Regions from separate parts of the Homo sapiens genome. Here region 2 is linked to region 1. The links are contacts of gene promoters, found by promoter capture Hi-C in blood cells and fetal thymus (Javierre and others, 2016). All regions are on one chromosome and are shown on one strand. The core of a region is centred on a gene start or on the middle of the fragment in contact, and the rest is flanking DNA. Distances in the headings are between cores, read along the strand shown. Region 1 holds the start of FPR3 (formyl peptide receptor 3). Region 2 holds the start of SIGLEC7 (sialic acid binding Ig like lectin 7).

Region 1 (4,972 bases), core at 1,750-4,249:
CTACTCTGATCTTATCTCTGACACCTCGATGGTGTAAATTCTTGATCAGTGACATCTCTTTGAGCCCCCATTTTCCCCTCTGCAGAACTGAAATGGTTTTTTGATAAAGACTGATTTTCAGGGGAGGATTAAATAGAATAGACATGGACTGGAGGCTGAGGTGGGGGAATCGCTTGAACCCAGGAGGCAGAGGTTGCAGTGAGCTGAGATTGCACCACTACACTCCAGCTTGGCAACAGAGCGAGACTCCGTCTCAAAAAAAAAAAAAAAAAAAAAAAGAATAGACATGGAAATCATCTAGGATAGGTCGGTAAATCTGTAACAAATTAGAACTCTTAGCCCTCACCAGGCTGTGTGTTGTGTTGTGGGGTACAATCCCGAACCCTGCACTATGAAGCTCAGGGTCAGGACAAGAACGATGCTTATAGCAATAGTAGCTTCTACTTATGAACATTATCCACACACCAAGAGCTTCTCCCTTAACCCTCACAACTCCTCTCATAGGCTCTGTGGATGGGATGTGTTAATATGTGTAAGCACTCAACACACCCTGAGACACGGTGAATATTGATTAATGTTAGTTTTAATTTGTATAACCATTGTACAGACGAGAAAGTTAAGACTTAGATTGAGGTGGGATGTGGTGAGGGATAAAAGATCATTTTTTATACCAAAAAAATTGAAAATTGTATTTCTACTAGATCATTCTATCACATAATCACGCCCCCTCTCTTTCAAGAGAAACCTCCTTTGAAGCATATTTCTTTCCAGCTTCAACCCTATCTAGCCAAATGACCTCTCTGTAAGGTCTGTCTGTAAGACAGAATTTCCAGCCAAACATCCAAAGAGAATGTCTCTAATTCTTCCTTTTCCTTCTTCGCCTCAGCTGTTCTCCTTAATCCACTCCACATTGACTTCTGTCCTTAGCACTCCACCTAATGCATTTTCCCAAGGATGCTTATGACCCCCAGGCTGCCAAATCCAGTGAGTCCTTCTCAGTTTTTAAGACCTGATATCCCAATGACACAGGACCCATTGGATCACTTTCTCCCTTTTCAAACACATTTTTCCTATGCCATGAGATATATCCAAGAGATATGTGCACACAATACACTCTTGGTCGTCTCTACAGCTCGATTCTCTTCCTCTTTTTAGTCCAATTTACGGTGTTTTCTATTCTAAATTTGACTCTAAATGTTGGGGTATCTCACATTCTATAAATGATATCATCCAGTCTCTGGGATTAAACCATTATGCTGTCTTTTCATCTAAATTATCAGCCGTGGCCTCTCCCTGGCACTCAAGTCTGATAAAACCTCTCCCCGTGGGAGTCCCATAGACTCCAAACCTCACATGGTTTTACCAAACTGTTGATGTTCTCTGCCTCCCAGACCTGCCACTCTTCCAATATTCTGTATCTATTTGGAGATTAAATATTCAGTTGTTAAAGCTCCAGATCTAGAACTCACCTTTCATTTCTCTTTTCCTCACCACCCAACGCCATCCACGTCTTACTCATTCTATCTACAGAACATGCTGAATGCACAGCCAGAGCCATTGCCATCTCCACGACCGGTGTCCATGGCCCTGTCAGGCTTGGATATTTGCACAAGCCTTGCAAATAGCTTTTTCCTGGTCCTGCTGCCCCCTCCCCTAAGATCCATTCTCCAGACAGAAACCAAATGAGCTTTAAAAAGGTCCAATAAGATGGTGATGTTATTCGCAATACCTTCCGATGGCTTCCAGACTTCTAAGTTACCCTTATCTTAGGTTCCCTTATCCTAGGTTCCCTTATCCACTGCCACATGTGCCCTGTGCATCCCTCAGACCTCATCTCTGCACTCTCATCAGACACACTGGGCTCCACCCACTGGGCTCTAATTCCTTGAACTTGCAGCTCTTTGTCATCTCAGGGCTTCTGCTTTCTCTATTCCTTCTGCCTACCGTGCTCTTCGTCTTGAGCTTCCTGCACCTGGCTCATCCTGAATATTCATATTTCAGGTCAAATATTATTTCAGAGAGATCCCACCTCACCCACTCTGCAAAGCAGAATGCTCAGGTACAGCCTATCTCACCAGATACTTTTCTCCTTTATTTGTTTGTTCATTTATCTTCTCTCTTAAATACCCTCCACACTAGTACGTAAGCTCCACAGGACTATCAAGATCCTTCAATGCTACATCTCTACAATGCTACATGTCCAGTAGAAATATAATGTGTTAACTTTAGCTACATATGGGACTCAAAATTTTTTTGTAGCCACTGTTTTTAAAAAAGTAAAACACCTTTGGGGAAATTATTTTAGTAATAAATTTTATTTAATTACATATATGATAAAGAATTGGCCAGTCACATTGGCTCACGCCTGTAATCCCAGCACTTTGGGAGGCCGAGGTGGGCAGATCACGAGGTCAGGAGTTGAAGACCAGCCTGGCCAACATATTGAAACCCCGTCTCTACTAAAAATACAAAAAATTAGCCAGGCGTGGTGGCAGGTGCCTGTAATCCCAGCTACTCAGGAGGCTGAGGCAGGAGAATCGCTTGAACCTGGGAGGCAGAGGTTGCAGTGGGCTGAGATTGTGCCACTGCACTCCAGCCTGGGTGACAGCGCAAGACTCCATCAAAAAAAAAAAAAAAAAAAAAAAAAAAAAGAATGTTACTGGAACATGTAACCAAATTAAACACTGTTAATGAAATAGTTAACATTGTTTTCATACTAACGAAGTGGATTCTTCACTGGACTACGCTACTCCAGAGTTAGAAGGGCTCTGTCATATAGCAGGCATTTCAACAATAACTTTAAAATTTTCAGACCCCAACTTACCACCAGCTTAGATCCTTTTCCTGTGCCCAGTTCCTGGATTCCTGTGGAGCAACTCAGGCTCTAAGTACTTGTAAAAAGATGAAGTTATATGTTTGGTTTTAAGATCTTAATTGGCTTTGGTTATAAAGATGGAATCAGACAGCCTGTCATGCTATAAAACAAAATGAGTGTTTTGATAGTTAGAGCCAAGGAAGTTGGTTTTACAGGGATAGGAGGGCTAAAGAAAGCAGAAACAGAGAACAAAAACCTGATTGGTCATCTGGATGTTGCATTTTTTTTGTGCAGCAGGAATAGAGAGACAGCAATAAGGAACAACTGATTGATTGAAGTCAAGTTACCACAGATTGCTTTTTTTTTTTTTTTGTAAAGATGAAAGCAGACAGAACTTCATGTTCATGCCCACTGAAACTGGCCTGTTTTAGGAATTTGTCCATTTTCTCTCTCTCCTGATTTCTCAAAAGTTCAGATACATTAGTTTTGGTTTGGTGATGTGGAGTTTTAGTATGACTGACTCCATTTGGTTTGCTTTGTCGAACCTAGTACAATAGGTCAGTCCAAACCACTTACTTGCTGTTTTTATAGAACAGGCTTCAGCAGAGACTTAGTTGAAGGACACGGGGACAATGGAGCTGGAATCAATCCAGTGACACAAACTCAGGGTTTCTTACCATTCCCAGAAGACACCTTGGAGATGTTCTCAGACGATTTATCTTGGAAACTTATGTGTCTGAATGTTCCTTCACCTCTAGCCTTCTGTGGGAGACTGGAGTTCATCCTTCCAAATATCAAAGGCCAAGAAATCTGAGAGTCCAGGCCCTTTCTTTTCAGAGATTCAGGAAAATGAAAGAAACAATTACCAAGGTGAGAAGAATGAGAGGAAAAACAATAAAAAAACAAAGATGCACGGTGAAACAAAAACTCGATTCTCTACTTTCACAATCCTTCTGACCAAATATACTTTTTCTCTACACCAAGAAATTCTCCAATTCTCTGGGGACACCACCTGGGCCACCTGCAATTAAAAATTCGGTTATGATGCTGTCTACCTGGATTCAGCTCAGATCCGAAAAGCTAAAGGGCTCACTCCCACAAACTGTTCTCAGATCAGATCAGACATCTGTTGCAAGTCCCAGGTGGCTACTTGTACTTCTGACTGACAGGCTATAAATTGGGTGTTCCAATGACACCAATAAATTGCTAGAATGGCACACAGAACTCAGGAAAGCACTTTGTTTGCATCTGTTGCTTTATATAAGGAATATACCTCAGGAATAGTCCATTGGAAAGAGGCATATGGCAGGTATATGGCAGGGAAGGGGTTGGGTGGTGCATGGAGCTTCCATGCTCTCTTCAGGCAGCCACTCTCCCAGCACTCCTGAGTGTTCACCAATGTGGAAGCTCATCAAATCTCATTGTTCAAGAGTTTTTATGGAACTCAATCTCCAGTCCCTGCCTCCCCTTCCTGGAGATCAGTAGGTGGGGCTGACAGCTCCAACCCTCTAATCCCTTGGTCTTTCTGGTGACCAGTCCCATCCTAAGGCCATGATCTCCTTAGCATAAACTCAGCTATGATCAAAAGGGGCTGTTTATGAATAACAAATAATACTCCTATCACTCAGGGAATTCCAAGGGTTTTAAGAGCCCTGTGCCAGAAATCTGTGACAAAATCAAATATGCTTTGAGGTATTTCATACCTCAGAGTTACAAAGAGAAGCAGTAACTAGGAGCATGTAGAGAGGTAAGGAAGGTAAATGAGAGACACTGTACACTCCACACCATTGCCGAGATTAACCCCCTAACCTTCTGCCCCTAGGGAGATGCTCTATGGACTACTGATCTAAGGAGATGGGCTCTTTCTGAGTTTTTAAACACCATCAGAATGTTGTTCTCAAGCCCAAGGAATAGAACCATGAAAAACAGTGGAGAGCCACAAAACAAGAGTCAACTATTTTCTATTTTCTCTCTGATTCACTGGATGTTTTCAGTGATAAGGTAGAGTAAACCAATGAAGCACATAAGCCATGGAGAAATTTATTATTAAAAAAAGTTTTGGAAGGGGATAGATCTGGAGTTTGAACAAAAATTGAGTTTAATGTCACCCTTCCACTCCATCATCATATTGGTTTTCTTCTAGGGCTTTCTTGAAAG
Region 2 (4,835 bases), core at 1,974-4,473, 650 kb after region 1:
CATTAGGAGATGCCACAAAATCAGAGACTATTCAGACAGTGGAATCACACACATCCCTAGAAGAGGGTGCAAACAGTCTCACTGCTGACATCAAACCACCTCTGAGATCTTCCAGGTGCACAAACCAAGGCTCAGGACAGCCTGGACAGACCCTGGTTGATTCTGGGGACACATTTTACTGTGAATTTAAAATTTTTGCCCACGTGATTATAGCATGTATCCAAAAGAACGTAGCTCAAAACTATTGGGTAAAATAAAAAGACGAGTTAGGTGGCATATTCAGGAGATGGAAGATAAGAGGCCCAAAGGCTGCTCCTGCTATATGTATTTCCCCCTGTCCTGGCTGCAGGGCTGAGGAGGGTGTGTGTGCAAGAGTCTGAGGGGAGTGGGGGGAAGAGGACAGGTGCTCAGGTGGCCACAGAGGCTAAGGATGGGGAGGAGGCCTGGGTTCAACTACAAGGGAGTCTCATATCACCAGGGTGAGTCCAGGATGAGGAGGGACCTGGCCCTGCCCTGAGCTGAAGGCCCTGCTCCCCCAGCCCCAGGGAGGGGGCTCCATCCTACCTGTGCCTTCTCCTTGGAAGACAGTCACAGTCAAGTTCTGAGGAGGGTCTGGGACAGAAAGACATGGAGACCTGCATCACTGTGAGGGCTGGGGACACTGGCCCTGTCTCCCCAGGAGCTGCATAAATGGGGAAGGCGGAGCCAGCGTCCTCCTGATCCCACAACCAGCCCAGATTCTGGGACCCAGCACCCAGTGTCGAGCCCTGACCCCATCCTCTGCCCTCAGGGACGTCCCCCCCTCATCAGGGACCAGGGCGTCCTGGCTCAGCACTCACAGGACACATTGAGTTGGATGGTCCTGTTCGTGGTCACGCCGGCCCCAGGCAAGGTCACCTGACAGGTGAGGCTGGTGCCGTGGTGCTGGGGCTGTGGGATGAGGGTGAGCACTGAGGAGCGGGTGGTGGAGGGGTGCAGGGGGGACACAGAGGTCCCCATCCAGGAGATCATAGGGGGCGTCCCCTGCTCACAGGCCCAGGGCACAGAGCAGGTCAGATTCTGGAAGCAGCCAGACTCCAGGGTACCGGGGATAAGGATGTTGGGCCTGTGGGTCAAGGCTGGTGAAGAGAGGGGGACTCAGGATCAGGACAGAGGATCCATGGTACAGCCCTGGGGGAAGCTCAGGCTCTGGTTCAGCTTCTGCCCTGAGCCCAACTCGCTTCACCCTCAGCCCTCTCCCAGGGCAGGGGCCCCATCCCAGGCTTTCGCTGCCACCCCCATGACCTTTCCCTGTGGTGTCTCCTGGAGCCTGTGCCTTATCTGTCACATTCACAGAGAGCTGCTTCGTTTTGTAATTCCATCTTATCTGTCCTCTCTCCACCTGGAAGTAGTAGTTCCTCAAATCCCCCTTCCTGGCATCTCTGATGCTCAGGGAGCAGTTGTTGGTCTTCAGGTCCCCAAGGAGGTGGAATCGGCCCCGTGTCTCCTGCACTTTTCCATTTGGGATGTTTGTGGCCACTGGATTATTCCATTGTATATTGATCCCTTTCTTAAACCAGCATCCATGGACAGGGCTAGAGTCAGTTCAGTTGTAATAGGGTTAAAGGACACTGCAGGGCACAGAGACGCACTAGCCCTCCTGCACCATCACCAACTCCAGCACCTCCAGCCTGTATCTTGACAGTGGGGCCTGGGACGCTGTGGGGAAATGAGGCTCAGCCCAGCCCCGACTGTCCCTCTCTTCATTTGCCCACAAGAGAGGCAGCAGCATCTCTGAGACAGAGGGTTCCTGGGCTCCTTGTGTGAGCAGAGAAGTGGGAGGGAGAGGAGGGGCAGGGCTGTGGGACCCACAGGGGGCTGGAGAGGGGCTGGAGAGGAGCTGGAGACCTCAACCCAGCACGAAAGAGAAACTACAAACCCACATGCTATAGGAACTGGTTCCCTCTGCACAGAGTGAAGGAAACCCTGAAGCTCAGAGACCCTAGAGACCCACCCAGGGAGGAGAAGAGACCGTGTCCCACCTCCTACCTCCGGGCTTCCCTGGAGCACCAGGGCCTGCACCAGACACGTAGGTCCTGCCCTCCCGGCCTCTGGACCATCGTGGAGGTCCCTCCTGTCTTTTGAGCATCTAAATGTGGATCTCCGAGGACCTCAGGGCATGAGAGATGGAGGGGCCGTGTGCTGAGTCTCCCTGTCCAGGCTCAGGTGCCTCTGCTGCCCTTGGTTTGCGCCAGGAAGTGCTTCCTCCCTGGCCTGGCCTGAGAGAGTCACGGGGTTGTGTAGACCTAAGGCTCTCAACTGGGGAGGACTTAACCCCCCAGGACGTTTAACAATGTGTGGAGATAATTGTTATTGTCTCACTGCATGGGTGGAGTGGGTGCTTCTGGCATCTGGTGGGGAGAGGCCTGGGATGGTGCTAAACCCCGGCCATGCCTAGGACAGGCCCCAAAACAAGGAGTCATAAGGCCCCACATGCCACAATGCCAGCGTCAGAGGCAGGATGAGGATGTCAGGCCTGTGGGTCAGGGCTGGTGAGGGGAGGGGCCTGCAGGATCAGGAGGGGCATCCAAGGTGCGGTCCTGGGGAAGCTCAGGCTCTGGTCCAGCTCCTCTCCTGAGTCCATCACCCCCGGCCCCCTCCCAGGACATGTGTCCCGTCTCAGCCGTGCCCTAAAGCCCTCATCACATTTGCCTTTGGCCTCTCTTGGAGCCCGTGCCTTACCTGTCACGTTCACAGAGAGCTGGTCATATTTATAATTCCATTTTATATTTCCTTTCTCCATACGAAAGAAGTATCTCCCCGCATCACTCATTCTGGCATCTCTGATGCTCAGGGTGCAATTTTTGGTCTGTGGGTCCCCAAGGAGGTGGAATCGGTCCCGAGTTTCCTCCTGCACTGCCCAAGCTGGGTTGTTTGTGGCCACTGGAGCCTTCCAGCTTATATCATTCCCTGCCCGGAACCAGTAGCCATGAACTGGGTCAGAGTCAGTCTGGCTGTCCACTGGGTAGGAGAAGGAGCAGCGCACATGGACACACATGCCCTCTTGCACGGTCACGGAACTCTGCATCGTCAGCGAGTAATCCTTCCGGTTACTCTTCTGTCCTTCCACCCTCTCCCTCCCCCAGAGCAGGGGCAGCAGCAGCAGCAGCAGCATATCTGGGGTTGGAGGTGCCAGGGCCGCGAGGGAACGTCTGTTCCTCAGGGTTCTTCTCTCAGGAACTGCGGGCTCAAGACTTAGAAGAGGCCCTACAGGAAGTCGGTGGTGAGGTCAAAACAGTGACCTCCTTAGAAGAAGAACTTCACACACAGACACTGTCAGGGCTGGGTCAGCCCTGGGAGATCCACCGTCCACCACCCGACATTCACTCCTGGGTCCCTGAGGCCAGAGCGGGAGACAGACTCACCCAGATTCCCACCCCATGCAGGGCCCACCCCACCTCCTGCCTCCCTCTCAATGCCTTTCCCTTTAGGTGATATTTTCTGCAGGGTGAAAATAACTCCCATCTGCCCAGACCCCTGAGTCACAGGCTGTGGATGTCTGCGTAGCTCAGAAGTGGGACTCGGGGCCATGAGAGACAGGGGTGCAGGTGGGGTGAACAGGCAGCCTCTCATCCCTCCCTCAGCAGCCACGAGGTGGGCACCCCCTTTCTGCACAATGAGGTCAACACAGCAGAGCCGGACACTGTCCCCAAGGAGTCACTGTGTGGTGGGGAGACACTGAGTCTCCTGACGTTTGAGCTCCCCATGACAGGAGCTTCAGTGGGGGGCACAGGCAGGGTGGGGTCACTCTCCCCTAGGTCGGGGGTTCAGTCTCAGGAGGACCGAGCAGACGGACATGGGGCTGTGAAGGTGAGGATTGCGCCTGTTGATACACGCCAAGGACACGGAGGGGAGCCCAGCCTGCAGGAGGCCGGGGAAGCTGAGGCTGTGATTGTTGTATTGTGGGGCTTGGTAGACAGGAAAGTCATAAGGGAAAGGATCAATATGAAAAGAGCAGACACTATTCCCATCCTCACAGCTCTCTGAGCACAAGGACATTTCCCTTCACCACTGCTATCTCATGAGGCCTGGTTAGTGCAGAGTGTGAGGGGTCTGCTGGCCCTGGGGCTTTGCTCCTGCAGGAACTGCTCCTAGGGGTTCAGGTGAACAGGAGACGTGGAGCAAAGACACCAGCCCCGGGGCGTCCACCCTCAGTGATGGGCGCGATTTTCTGAGAGAAGAAACACGCACCTGACTTCAACAGAAGATTATTTTAAACTGTGTGACTGGGCTGGGAGGAAGTGGGAAAAATCCTGCAAGCTGCAGCCCCCTTAGATCCAGGCCAGCTTTTCTTGAAACAGTTTTTTTTGAGCGGGGAGAAACACAAGACATGTACATAAAAGTGTCCCCTAAAAACCAACTCAGTGATTCACACAAAATAAGCACCCTTGAAGAACTAGAACACAAAAGAACTGTCAAGTCTGTCCCTTGAAATGAAGAAAGAGATTTTATTAATTCATTCACCCTTACATTCCCCTTTCCTATTGGCCATGCCCCCGCTCCCTCCTGAAGGAGCCCCTAGCCTCACTTTAATGATAATAGTCTTCCTGCTGTTCTATGTAGTTTTATCATCGGCACATGCTGCCTTGAAAATTCTAACTTCACGTAGGTTTTCCTGAAGATGTTGTATACATAGAAAATCCCAGTCTGTTTTCTTCCATACAACTGCATTGATCTGCTCAGCCCACACTGTCCCCTAATTGTCCATAACCTAGAGATCATTTGGCTGTAACGATTGAGAGAGGAAGATGCTGGGTTTGGGCGTCCGAAGCCACTCCCCGCCCTCACCTCCAATC

Evidence for each region. Contacts are between HindIII fragments. The CHiCAGO score rates a contact against its expected background, and 5 or more counts as called.
Region 2: the fragment with the promoter of SIGLEC7 here is called in contact with the fragment with the promoter of FPR3 in region 1 in 12 of 17 cell types (neutrophils, M0 macrophages, M2 macrophages and 9 more); the score reaches 22.8 in neutrophils.

The regions. Positions count from the first base shown.
Region 1 is chr19:51,793,184-51,798,155 of GRCh38, reverse strand. It overlaps FPR3 (formyl peptide receptor 3), which reads right to left and starts at 2,999. Exons shown (of 2, transcript NM_002030.5): 1 at 2,825-2,999. The HindIII fragment of the contact is 12,110 bases long and covers 1-4,972 here.
Region 2 is chr19:51,140,689-51,145,523 of GRCh38, reverse strand. It overlaps SIGLEC7 (sialic acid binding Ig like lectin 7), which reads right to left and starts at 3,223. Exons shown (of 7, transcript NM_014385.4): 1 at 2,722-3,223; 2 at 840-1,118; 3 at 565-612. The coding sequence starts at 3,154. The HindIII fragment of the contact is 9,764 bases long and covers 1-4,835 here.